3 separate regions of the Homo sapiens genome follow, and regions 2 and 3 are each linked to region 1. Evidence: promoter capture Hi-C in human tissues and cell types (Jung and others, 2019). All regions are on one chromosome and are shown on one strand. The core of a region is centred on a gene start or on the middle of the fragment in contact, and the rest is flanking DNA. Distances in the headings are between cores, read along the strand shown.

What was found. The method cuts DNA at HindIII sites, captures the fragments that hold promoters and counts their contacts. A contact is called where the count stands out against the background at its distance.
Region 2: a fragment that was not itself captured here is called in contact with the fragment with the promoter of ADAMTS16 in region 1 in 4 of the 25 tissues and cell types used here (hippocampus, liver, mesendoderm cells and 1 more).
Region 3: a contact is called between a fragment that was not itself captured here and the fragment with the promoter of ADAMTS16 in region 1, in 2 of the 25 tissues and cell types used here (liver and mesendoderm cells).

Annotation. Positions count from the first base shown.
Region 1 is chr5:5,138,835-5,142,971 of GRCh38, reverse strand. ADAMTS16 (ADAM metallopeptidase with thrombospondin type 1 motif 16) reads right to left here and starts at 2,642. Exons shown (of 23, transcript NM_139056.4): 1 at 2,433-2,642; 2 at 2,206-2,308. The coding sequence starts at 2,504. ADAMTS16-DT (ADAMTS16 divergent transcript) reads left to right here and starts at 2,918. Exons shown (of 4, transcript NR_109915.1): 1 at 2,918-3,016. ADAMTS16-AS1 (ADAMTS16 antisense RNA 1) reads left to right here. Exons shown (of 2, transcript NR_198969.1): 2 at 601-834. RefSeq lists an enhancer at 2,870-3,436. The HindIII fragment of the contact is 9,507 bases long and covers 1-4,137 here.
Region 2 is chr5:5,230,795-5,234,931 of GRCh38, reverse strand. ADAMTS16 (ADAM metallopeptidase with thrombospondin type 1 motif 16) reads right to left here. Exons shown (of 23, transcript NM_139056.4): 12 at 2,416-2,564. Among named protein-coding and RNA genes, the nearest start is that of ADAMTS16-AS1, 57 kb to the right of the region's middle. The HindIII fragment of the contact is 7,140 bases long and covers 1-4,137 here.
Region 3 is chr5:5,064,291-5,068,427 of GRCh38, reverse strand. It overlaps LINC01020 (long intergenic non-protein coding RNA 1020), which reads right to left. Exons shown (of 7, transcript NR_026994.1): 5 at 1,324-1,525; 6 at 402-605. Among named protein-coding and RNA genes, the nearest start is that of LINC02121, 12 kb to the left of the region's middle. The HindIII fragment of the contact is 4,806 bases long and covers 1-4,137 here.

The DNA of each region.
Region 1 (4,137 bases), core at 1,393-3,892:
TAAATAGGGAATCCTTTCCCCATTGCTTGTTTTTGTCAGATGTGCCAAAGATCAGGTGGTTGTAGATGCGTGGTGTTATTTCTGAGGTCTCTGTTCTGTTCTATTGATCTATATATCTGTTTTGGTACCAGTACCATGCTTTTTTGGTTACTGTAGCCTTGTAGCATAGTTTGAAGTCAGGTAGGTAGTGTGTGACACCTCCAGCTTTGTTCTCTTTGCTATTTTGTAATTACTTCAGCCACCAAGAATGATTTGCAATAATAGTTTGAGTCATGCGCTACTTTAAACAAAATGTATGGCTACAATTAGTTATTTCAGAACCAACTTGTCTAATGGATACCTAGACAGGCAACAGTAAGTTGACCCCAGCAGTCACCAAGTGTCTTCTAGCTCTTCTGCTCCAGGTCAGAGGGAAACAGGCAACACTGTTGAGGAGGATCTTTTCTCTGGTGGCATAAAAGCTTGTTGTGGATGTCCAGACTCACACATTAGCCATTTATAATTAAGGAGCTAAAGTGCATAGAAGGTAGGGGAGGAGGGTGTGTGCTGTGTCCACTGGGCTAGAACTTCACTAAGAAGGGTTTGCCTCTTCCCCTTCAGGTTCTTACCAAGCCAGATAAGTGGTTGTCATGGAGACGATACGTTGTGACAACAACTGTGGTGCCAGGTGTTCAGAGCAGCACACTGGCACCCCACTCCCAGAGAGGATGCTGAAGCAGATTGAATCACTTTAGGAGAAAAGCACACTTAGGCACGAAGCCCTGGCTTTTCTTCTTCTTTCTTCTGTGTCTATAATGTGTTTTATCTTAAATAAAACTTCATAAATGCCATAAACTATTGTGGAAATCTCCTGAGTCCCTCTGGAATTTTCATGGTTTTAGGGAACTAGAATTTTTTTTTTTTTTTTTACAAAAATCTTACTTAAAAAGGTGAATTAGAATTAACCTTTAAAATTGTAAGAATTAACTTTTAGTATTGTAAGCAAAACCCTAAAAAGGACAAGGACAACCACAAGAGGATAGTCTGTAAATGGACAGATAATTAACTTTCTCTTGTAAATTCACTGTGACAATTTTTTTTAACATTTTATATCATTTGCACCTAGCGCCCCCTGGTGGTTCTCAAAAAGGTACTATGGTGAGCGTCAATCTGACACCGGTCACCTTATATACTATTTGTGTACTCATTTGGCAGGGAATAATTTCAAAAGTTAATGCATATATTAAGTGCTTGCCTTTATGTTATTTTATCAAATTGAAATAACTATACTGAGAAATTCTGAATTGTTAACTTTAATTTTCTAGATCTTCTGGAAATACATTGAGAGAATGAAACCTAGTTCTTCCTATAAAAGTCAATTAATATTAACATTTGATACGGCAATTTATTGTTGGTAACAATGCAAAATAATATTTATTAACTGTCATTGGATGGGTTCAGGTTAAAAAACCACCTAGCAACCAGTGCGACACACCTGCGTTCTCATTTACCTGATGCAGTATGAAGACACAGAGATCCCTTTCCATAAGACAGCAAATTTCCAAATGTCACTTGTAAGTGGCAGAAGTAAAAGCATGCATTGAAAAAGAATAAGACTTGCCCTCATGTCAAATTGTGGCCCAGGATATGAACGTTGCTGATGGTGTCACAATCAGCTGATTAGCCATTTCAGGCACTATTATGTTTGAAGTACGCCCTGATTGTTGGAGCATTAACTTTGGTATTGAGATGCTAAGCGCTTCTTTTATCTCCTTCACTGAGAATAAGCAACGATAGAGGAATATTTTAATCTATAAAGGAGGAGAAGGAGGAAAGGTTGGGGACGGGAAGGAGGATCCGAGGATGTAGAAGGGGACGGAAAAGAAAGTAATTTGCTCTTTATGACGGCTTTGATGCATACATTAATAGCTTTAGATTCTTCCTAAGCTCTTTAGAATAAAATAAAATGAACTTCCTCACCTTTTTCCTAATGTTATATCAATAACTCTGGCAAACCGTTTTGCCAGGGAATAAAATGTAAATATTGGTGGAAATCCACTCATCGGGGCTCGCTCATACAGTTAAAAAAAAAAAAAGTTCACAACAGCATCTTAAAAGTAGGGTTCCACAGAGTCGTGAACATTCACAGCACCTAATAAACCAGCGGCACGGAGATTACGAGCTGCTAAATGGCAAGGATTAGAAGCCCCCACCTCACGGACTTACCGCCCTTTTCCATCCAGCCCGGCCGCTCCGCGGGTGGAGGAGGACGCGGGACGCTCGGGCTCCCAGGCGCTGCCGCTGCGGGTCCCATGGCGCACGCAGGTGCCTGCGGAAAACAGCGGCGACATCGCGGTGAGACGGCGGGGTCCGCGGGAGAGGAGCCGCGGGGGACTCGCCTCCAGCTGTCCGGACCCGCGGTTTCCGCGCTGGTGGGAGCGCCCGGGACTCACCTGCTCGGCCACCTGCGCCAACAGCATCCACAGCGCCGCCAAGCCCCGCCATCCGCGCGCGCGGGGCTTCATCCAGGAGCGCTCCGAGGGGCTAGGGGCCACCGGAGGGTCCCCGGCCGGCAGCGTGCGAGCGGGCAGGGAGGACCCGACCCAGGCAGAGCGCGGGAGGATTCCCCACAGCGACTCCGCCGCCGCGCCGGGGTTATTACTGAAGCTCCGTGCGGCGCGGGGGGCGGAGTGGCAGCCGCGGCGGCGGGGGCGGCGGGAGCGGTGGGAGAGCGCGGGGCGGGCAGGGGAGAGAGGAGGGGAGGAGGTGAGGGCGGGGGGGTCAGAGGACCGAGGAGGGGAGAGTGCAGGGACAAAGAGCAGAGGGGAGGAGGCGAGGTCAGCGGGGCGCTGAGGCGGAGGCGAGCGGGGAGCAGAGGGAAGGCGGGAGACAGCGGGCAGCGCCAGAGGAGGAGGACGCGGGAAGATGGAGCTGCCCACGGCCTGCAGTCCGTGCCTCTCTGCCCGCGCGGGGACCACACAGTTGGAGAGGCTGCCGGGCACCGGCGCGGGCGATGCTCAGCATGGACCTCCGGCCGGTGCGCGCTCCTGCCCTGCCTTGGGGCTGGGGACTCGGCGGGACTCCAGCTACTGCAGTGGCTCCGCGGGCTCCCACCTCCGGGCCGCACCGGCGCCGCCAGAGGCCGGGACACCTGCAGCCCGCGGAGTGCGGTCTGGCCGCGCCTCTGTGCCCGGGCACAGCTGTGGGGACACTGGGTGCGGAAAACCGGGCGCCAGGACGTGGGAGAGCCGCGGACCTGCCTTTAAAGGCGCGTGCCTCGCTCTGGAGTTTGCGGAGCGATCGGAGACGGGGAGGCTGAGGAGGAAACTCTTCCCCCGCGCCATTTGCCCCGAGATGTGGCGGCGCTCCTGGCCCCGCGGTCACGGCCACCCTCAACTGGCCAGGCCGCGGAGGCCGGTGACTGGCTGCTGGGTGCAATCCCTAGGGAGGTCTCAGGGCTGCGGATGGGCCTGGGTCTCGGCCGCCACGGGGGTCGATCGGGCTACTGTGTGGACAGGGTGGCCAAGGAGGCAGCAGGTGTGCGGTCAACAGCCTGGCCAGAATTCTGCTGTAGCTGGATGGGGTGTGTGAGCGCGCGGGTGTACATGTGCCTGGGTGTGCGCGGGTGTACATCCACACCTGACTGCGTGTGCGCGAGTACACGCTGTGAGCCCATAGTGTGTCTGGAATTGGTGGGTTCTTGGTCTCACTGACTTCAAGAATGAAGCCGCATACCCTCGCGGTGAGTGGGTACAGCTCTTAAGGTGGTGCGTCTGGAGTTTGTTACTTCTGATGTTCAGATGTGTTCGGAGTTTCTTCCTTCTGGTGGGTTCGTGGTCTCGCTGGCTCAGGATTGAAGCTGCAGACCTAGGCGGTGAGTGTTACAGCTCTTAAGGCAGAGCCTCTGGAGTTGTTCGTTCTTCCCGGTGGGCTCGTGGTCTCGCTGGGCTCAGGAGTGAAGCTGCAGATCTTCACGGTGAGTGTTACAGCTCATGAAAGCAGAGTGGACCCAAAGAGTGAGCAGTAGGCCGGGCGCGGTGGCTCACGCCTGTAATCCCAGCACTTTGGGAGGCCGAGGCGGGCGGATCACGAGGTCAGGAGATCGAGACCATCCCGGCTAAAACGGTGAAACCCCGTCTCTACTAAAAATACAAAAAA
Region 2 (4,137 bases), core at 740-3,239, 93 kb before region 1:
AGCTAAGAGTGTTAGAATGGGTAATTAGGAAAAAAGTGGATTCTTTTTTTTTTTTTTTTTTTGAGATGGAGTCTCGCTCTGTCACCCAGGCTGGAGTGTAGTAGTGTGATCTCGGCTCGCTGCAACCGCTGTCTCCTGGGTTCAAGTGATTCTCCTGCCTCAGCCTCTCGAGTAGCTGGGACTATAGGCACACGCCACCACACCCAGCTAATTTTTGTATTTTTAGTAAAGACGAGGTTTCACCATGTTGGCTAGGATGGTCTTGATCTCTTGACCCTGTTGTCCGTGCACCTCAACCTCCCAAAGTACTGGGATTACAGGTAGAAGCCACCACGCCCAGCTGGAAAAGTGGATTTCTAAGTGGTCTAGAACACATTCTTACACACGAATGGTAAGGTTGCACTCCCTTTTCTATTGAGTGAATCCTTTACAAGAGCAGCAGGGCAGGCTGGCCTGTCTTTGCTCCTCTCTGGGCCCAGTGCCTCTGCAGTGGTGAGGCAGGGTGGGCAGGGCTGTCCTCACCCTGCACAGGGAGGGGCTGATTGAGGAGGACCACACTTTCCCAGGATAGCACATTTGAGAGAATGTGGAACTCAGAGGGAAGTTCAATGACTTTGCTTTCAAGACCAAAATTTCTTTCCACCACCAGTCTTCTGGTGACAAGGCCAGGACCCAAAGACCAAGACTAAAGAACCAGTCACCTTTGCTGGTTGGCACTGACAGCTCACCCCAGAGAATTTGCATGTACACACTGGTAATGCGGGCAGCGCAAGGGGTACAGCGTGGCGTAGGGGGTGAGGTGAGCTCATGCTTTAAAGATGGGACTGAAACAACAAGCCAAGTGACACATCTTAAACAAGCTTAAGGGCAAAGGGAGATGTGAAAAACACCAGTCAGAATGGCTACTATTAAAATGCTAAAAGATAACAGGTGCTGGCGAGGTTATGGAGGAAAAGGAACACTTATACACTTTGGTAGGAGTGTAAGTTAATTCAACCATTGTGGAAGACAGTGTGGCAATTACTCAAAAACCTACAAAAAGAAATATCATTTGACCCAGCAATCCCATTACTGAGTATATATCCAAAGGAATATAAATCATTCTACCATAAAGACACACGCACATGAATGTTCATTGTGCAGCACCTTCACAATAGCGAAGACATGGAGTCAACCTAAACGCCCATCAATGTTAGACCAGATAATGAAAATGTGGTACATACACACCATGGAATACCATGCAGCCATAAAAAAGGAAGAGATCATGTTGTTTGCAGGAACATGGATGGAGCCTGGAGACCTTTATCCTTAATAAGCTAACGCAGGGACAGAAAACCAAATACCGCATGTTCTCACTTATAAGTGAGAGCTGAATGATGAGAACACATGGACATATAAAGGGAAACAATACACACTGTGGCCTGTTGGAAGGTGGAGGGTGGGAGGAAGGAGAGGACTGCAAAAAATAACTAATGAATACTAGGTTTAATACCTGGGCGATGAAATAATCTGCACAACACACACCCGTGACACAAGTTTGCTTATGTAACAAACCTATACTCTACCCCTGAACTTGAAATAAAAGTTAAATTTAAAAAATTAAAAATTAAAGCCTCTTCACTTCCGCACACTGGTGATGCTTCTCACATTCATTCTTACTTCTTACAGAAGCTGGCAGTTAAACCTCCTGTTGTGAAGGTAAATATATTTGATGGAAAACCCCCAAATTTGCTTTTTTCCACGTAAAACCATTGTTCTTACTGATCTTATTTATTTGTATTCTATACACTTTTCTTATGATTTATTTATTTGTTTTAAGCAGATCCTTGGTATGTCAAGTAAATGTGGTTAAAATTCAATTCCTGAATATCACTGTTGCTGCTGTTATTTTTTTGCTGTGGTCAGGTAGTTATAAGCATCTTAAGTTATAGCACAGAGAGGTAATTAAGAAATGCTTGAGTGAAATACCTTTCCTATTCAGTGCTTCTTACGATTATATGTACAGTACAGGCTTGCTATTAAGAGCTGAGGCCGGGCGCGATGGCTCATACCTGTAATCCCAGCACTTTGGGAGGTCACGGCGGGTGGATTACCTAAGGTCAGGAGTTCGAGACCAGCCTGACCAACATGGTAAAACCGTGTCTCTACTAGAAATACAAAAATTAGGAGGGCGTGGTGGTGGCACCTATAGTCCCAGCTACTTGGGAGGCTGAGGCAGGAGAATAGCTTGAATCCGGGAGGCGGAGGTTGCAGTGAGCCAAGATCACACCACTGCACTCCAGCCTGGGTGACAGAGCGAGACTCCATCTCAAAAAAAAAAAAAAAAAAAAAGAGCTGAGACACAGGCATACTGCTTGGAGGGTTCATGGCATGGAAATCAGTCGTTTGTGAGGAAGGAGGTCAAGGCATACTTACTTGGGGTTGGTGCAGAGGCGACTCCTATGAGATACTCCCCCTCCGCAGGTCCTGGAGCATGGGGACCAAGAAGACCAGTCCGACCAGTGGCCATGGGTGGGCTTGGGGCCTTCATCACCATATTTCACACACTGTCCTCCCCGGCACCACTAAAATTTTCAACATAAATAAGTTGACTTGACTCACACAGATGGATAGATGGGTTCATCTCATCACTGCTATAAGGCTGAGCAGTGGGGAATTTTGTAAACTATGCAGACATTAGCCTCCCCCTACACTCAAGCAGCACCTAATATAAATACAGTACATTCAATGTTGTTTTTTTTTTCCTTACCCAACCTAGCATCCTCCTATAAATTCACATACAGGGAAAATGAATAGAAAAATCATTTTCAAATGTCTGATCTCCCGGAAACTTGACACTTTTAATGAAGGAGTGTTATCTGAATACTTAGTCTGGCTGTTCAACTCCCAAGTCGGTGAACTCTGACCTGTCCTGAAAACAAGGTGCTTTTCACATCTCATGTTCAGAACAGAGAGAGTCTCAGGTAGGAAAGCACAGCTGGAGGCTCCACATGGCTCAACACCTTGTCATTTCAGGCCCATAGTCTGTGCTTTCCCCCCAAAGCACCTGGGCTCGGAGCCTTGGGACGATTAACTGATGCCATGTTAGAGGTCACGCAGCTTCCAGGGTGATGAAGCAATCCATGTGGAATTTCATCTGTCCCCACGAAGGCTGGAGATGCTATCTCTTCCCCTTTCTCCAGACAAGTGCTCATTCATTTTAATTCATGCTAAATTCCGCATGGCAAATTCACTGCACCACACATCAGTGCTATGCACTATTTAACACCGTGTCCAACAGCGGTGGTTCCCTGGGTGGTTTGGTATGAACTTCTAAGATTTTAAAGGTCCAGACTGTCCAGACTGTCTGTTGCGAGGAAGAAGGAAGATGTTTGTCTCTTGTCCTGGCCCCAGTGGAGTGAGAAGAGCTTGGTCTGTGGGCTGGGGAGACCTGAAGTCAAGTCCCTTTTTATCTCCAAGATTAGAGCCACTAGATTTGTACTGACAGAAAAAAAAAAAGGCTACTTTCATAGGAGGAAAGTAATACTTCTATTATTAGTTGAGGTATTAGGGTAACACATATCAAACTACTGATATCTGACCAGTGTTGGCACATACTATGGCAGTTCAAATGGCCCCATTTAATGCTATTTAAGTAAGAACAATTCCATTTAAAAACAAGAAATTCTGAAGAGTAAAGCCTCATCCATTCATTTCTTTTCTTTAAGCAAAACAACATCATCTCTTCCATCCCTGCCTGCCCTCCCACCCGGTGTAGAACAAAGTCCACTGTCTCAGGCTCAAGGAGAAGCCCATTGCCTGGAATAGGCTCCTGCTCTTGGACAGCATCCTACAGGTGTGGGGACAGGAGTGAGGTTGCACCGGTTGTCAGAGAGGAAGGAGATGCCAGGTGTGTGCTAGTTGTTGTCGTTTTCTTTTCCCCCCTTTTTAAAAACCATCTGGTCATAGCTTTCTAATGCAGGAGACATGAAACATAAAAATGGAATTTCAACAGGTTGAATAACTGAAAATATTTCTGGGAAAATCTCTCTTGGTTTGAAGATGAAGAACAGGATTCGAAGCCCCAGAATGAGGTCAGGTTAGTGGAAGACAGGAGCGCTGTCTCAAAAGCAAGGATGTTTATCAAAGAAGCACTGT
Region 3 (4,137 bases), core at 630-3,129, 74 kb after region 1:
AAAGAATATTCAAAATGTATAAAAGATTTTCAGTAAAGGTCAGCACATTTGAAGAAGTAGGTAAAAACTTAGATAAATCTTATATAATATTTACTCAGGATAGATGATTAATTTTTTTGTTTCTGAATAAACTTTATTTTTAGAGCTATTTTAGGTTTATAGAAAAATTACACAGAAAGTACAGAGTTCTCATATACACCACCCCGTCCTCTACAGTTCCCCTTTTATTATTAACAACGTGCATGAGTGTGGTATATTTGCAACAACTGAGGAATCAATATTGATGAGGCAGTTTGAGTAGAGCCTCTGACCTGGACACCTAAGAGTTCCCTGCAGAATGGCTGACTTAGGATCTGAATCTGGGTTCACCTTCTTTTGCATCTATGGGAATGATAGTCTACCTTGTTTTATTTGACTTTCTTCAAATTGAAGCCTTCTTCTAAAGCAAACTCATGGAGGTTGTCTGCAGGCAGAAGGTGGCTGAAGAAGCTCTTCTCGCAGTCCACTTCCAGGAAAGACACTAAAGGAGAGGAAGAACCAGGGCTCCCCTTTTTATTACTCTCATATCCTCAGCAAAGGCTTGGTGTGAAATCCGGAACTGGGTGCTGTGAAGGCAACTATGAATTACTGGGAAAGAGTACAAACTATTTTGTAAATGCATTTACACACCTTTTTTTTTTTTTTTAACAAAAATACATAGTTTGAAACATGCCAATTCAACCCAGCAGAATTGCTGACTGCTGACAGTGCACGGTCTGTGACTTCACAGACCTATAGGTCTTATGAGCTCAGATTTCTGAAAATATGTTTTTATTCATCTGAACAGCCTTTACTCAGAAATAGGAATTGAGGGAGAAATGTCAAAATGGAGAGGACATTAAGTGTTTGCTAATATATTTGACTTTAGTTTCCTTGGATTCAATTTGGCAGCATGTATTTAACTTAAAACTCCCTTAGTTGTTTCTAAGAATAAATGGAAAGAAAAAATTCCCTTGGCAGAGAGAGAGATTAAATGTGTGAGACCTGGAGTGTGTTGGGGTGGTCGGGGGATGGCCAGCACTGGCTCTGCCTCCGCAGTGGGATGATCACGACTCGACTTTATCTGTCTGGGTTGCCATTCATTTTAATTCTAAAATGAGGCCTTCTAGCTCTAAAGGTAACAATTGTATCTGCAGTTAAATAATTCTTAGTGCATGATCATAGGAGGACCAGAAATATAATTTTTCTTGAAGTCAAATTAAATTCAACTTCAAGTTAAATCCATGTATTTGTTCAGAAAATTGTTGAATTGCCCTTAATATTTCATCTATTGCAATGCCACACCAGGTATCTTCATAGCACAATCTCCACAGTGTTGACATCTTTCTGGGGAGAGAAGGTTGAGGAGGAGAGGGACATCTGTGCTTTGGAAGCATCATCCACTGTTCATCTCTTGGAGACGCTGTGATAGTGAGTAACTTGTTATCACAGTTGTCATCGACTTCATTGGGCAATCTGTTAACTAATGGTATTTCAACTGCTTTTCCTGAGGAAAGAAAAGAGAATTAGATCAGTGCCAAAAAAAGTGGGCTTTTTGTCTGTTTCTTTTAAAAATTTTTAAATAAATTGCTTTCTTTTCTCCTCCTTAATCAGTGTTTCTCAACCCTGGAAGCATGTCAGAACCACCTGGAGAGCAATAAAAATACCAATGACATCATCTGGGCCCAGGCCAACTAAATCAGACTCTCAGGGGAACAGGGCTGACTTTTTTTCCCCCCTCTTGAGGGCGGGGGCCTGTTTTTGTTTCAGTTCTTTTCAGTTCTTTCCCCATAGAAAGAACTTGTGCTGCTAGTTGTCCAGAGACCACACTTTGAGCCACTGCCTCCTCAGTGACTTTTAAGGCAGTAGTTCTAAAGTGTGGTCCCCAGACAACTAGCAGCACCAGTATCTCCTGCCCAGGAAGTGCCAATTTCCTCCCAGCCCTGCTGGCTGAGAAGCTCTGGGTGTGGGTCCAGCAGTCTGTGCTGTAAGGAGTCCTCCAGGTGCTGCTGCAGTGGGCTGAAGTCCGAGAACCACCCATCTAAGGTCTATGGCTTCAACTCTCCCGTCTCAAGTGCAGTCTCAACTTTCTCTCTCTACCTTCGTTCAGCTGGCTCCAGGTGTGCATCTAGGTGTCCCAGCAATGCCTTGTATTCATGTCCAATACAAGACCGAGTCTTTGCTTGTTGTTACTTAACATGCTCCTCACCATGATTCTGAGGTTTAGGCTCAACAACTGACAGCTGTCTTCAGTTTCACCTGGTTTCCTTCGCCTGGCAATTGATCTGTCCCTGAGCCTGTGTGCCTCTCCCTTGCCCTCCCCTTTGCCACGGTGCTGGCTGTGCTCTTATTATCACTCTGCCATGAGCTCCCACTGCCATGAGCTCCCACAGAAACCCTTCTGGAGAGGAGGAGGACTCTTTCTTCATCTCTCCAGCTATCATCCTTATCATCTTTGTTGCTTTGTTCCAAAAAACCTTCAGTTCTCATCAAAGCCCTCTGCCTGTCTTAGCACCATAGATAGACCCATTACTTCACAAAAATTAGTACCAGATACAAGTCCTTGTCTCTCATCTGATCTGGTGACACCTATCCCCACCAAGTTGCTTTGCTGTATGCCCTCCTCAGACCCCAGAGGCTGGCAGCGTGAGCCGCCCTGGGCTTCCTGCCTCTACAGCTGGCATCACATCACAGCTTCTGCTGGAAGCTCCCTCCTGAGGTCTATCCTCATATCTGTCATCTATCCTTCAAGAGTCGGCTAAATTTTGACTGCCTCCCACCCAGCAGGAATCACTTCCTCATTTGTGTTCCTGTAGGATTTTCTTCATAACATTTATAACACTTGACACATTAATATGAGTCTAGCTTTTTTAATGACAAACAGGACCTAAACTTAGAAGCGCATTCTCTCTCTCACCACCCAAGCTTCAAACATGGGTTAAGTGTTGGCTCATTTCTTTCTCTCCTTGGATTACTCCTTGACCTTTAACTTCTTTAGCCTTCTGCTCCTATCATCTGCTTGGATGTCCGTGGCATCAGTAAACACACATAAGCAAAGCTTTGTCAGGGGCCTCTCCAAACAGATTCCCTATAGATTTTTTTCCAATTTTCTTAATGGTATTACCACTGTCAATGATTCAACGTGAATCCTTGAAGGTATTTCTGACATACACCCCTTCCACTCCCATATCTATAATTTGCTCCGAAGTGTTGATTCTTTCATTTATTTTTTTATTTTTTGAGACTGAGTCTTGTTCTATCACCCAGGCTGAAGTGCAGTGGTGCCATCTCATCTCACTGCAACCTCCGCCTCCCAGGTTCGAGCGTTCTCGTGCCTCAGCCTCCTGAGTAGATGGAATTATAGGCGCCTGCCACCACATCCAGCTAATTTTTGTATTTTTAGTAGAGACGGGGTTTGACCATGTTGGCCAGGCTGGTCTCAAACTCCTTACCTCAATTGATCCACCTGCCTTGGCCTCCCATAGTGCTGAGATTACAGGCATGAGCCAGCATGCCCGGCTTGTTTTATTCTTTATGATAGGAATTTTCCTCCTTAGTCAACAACCTAGTTGATCTCTTATACATTTATGCCTGCTAAATGTGGAGCAAACAGGCTGGAGCAAGTCTTTGGGCAAGGATGACCTTCTCCTGTGTTCTCCACTGTGAGTGCTAAAACCTAATGCCATAGGCAGGACCCATGACAACTATAGCACTGTACAGAAGGGACAACTGTTAAGAACCTAAGGAAGACAAATGAAGATATGCTTATGAATGATTACCCCACATTAGGGAATGAGCATGGTGCACATTTTACTTCCGTTCATAAACAAGAAATTAACTTCACTGTCTTTTGCCTCACCTCTGGACACATTCTTAGCTTCTCAAATCTCCCGTCTCACCCTTGAACACTTTGTCAAACAGGTTTCCCATCTTTTCCATTAGTTTCAGTAGGACATGCTCATTTTTTAGCAATTTAGAAAGTTGAGACTGTTTCCTGTTTCAATTTCTCATAACACCCAAGGCATACATCCTTCCCTATGGAGAGACCATCACCAGCTTGACAATTTGGAGCAGGAGGATGCCAGCCTGCCTGGTTTTCCTCGCTCCTCCTTTTGGGTG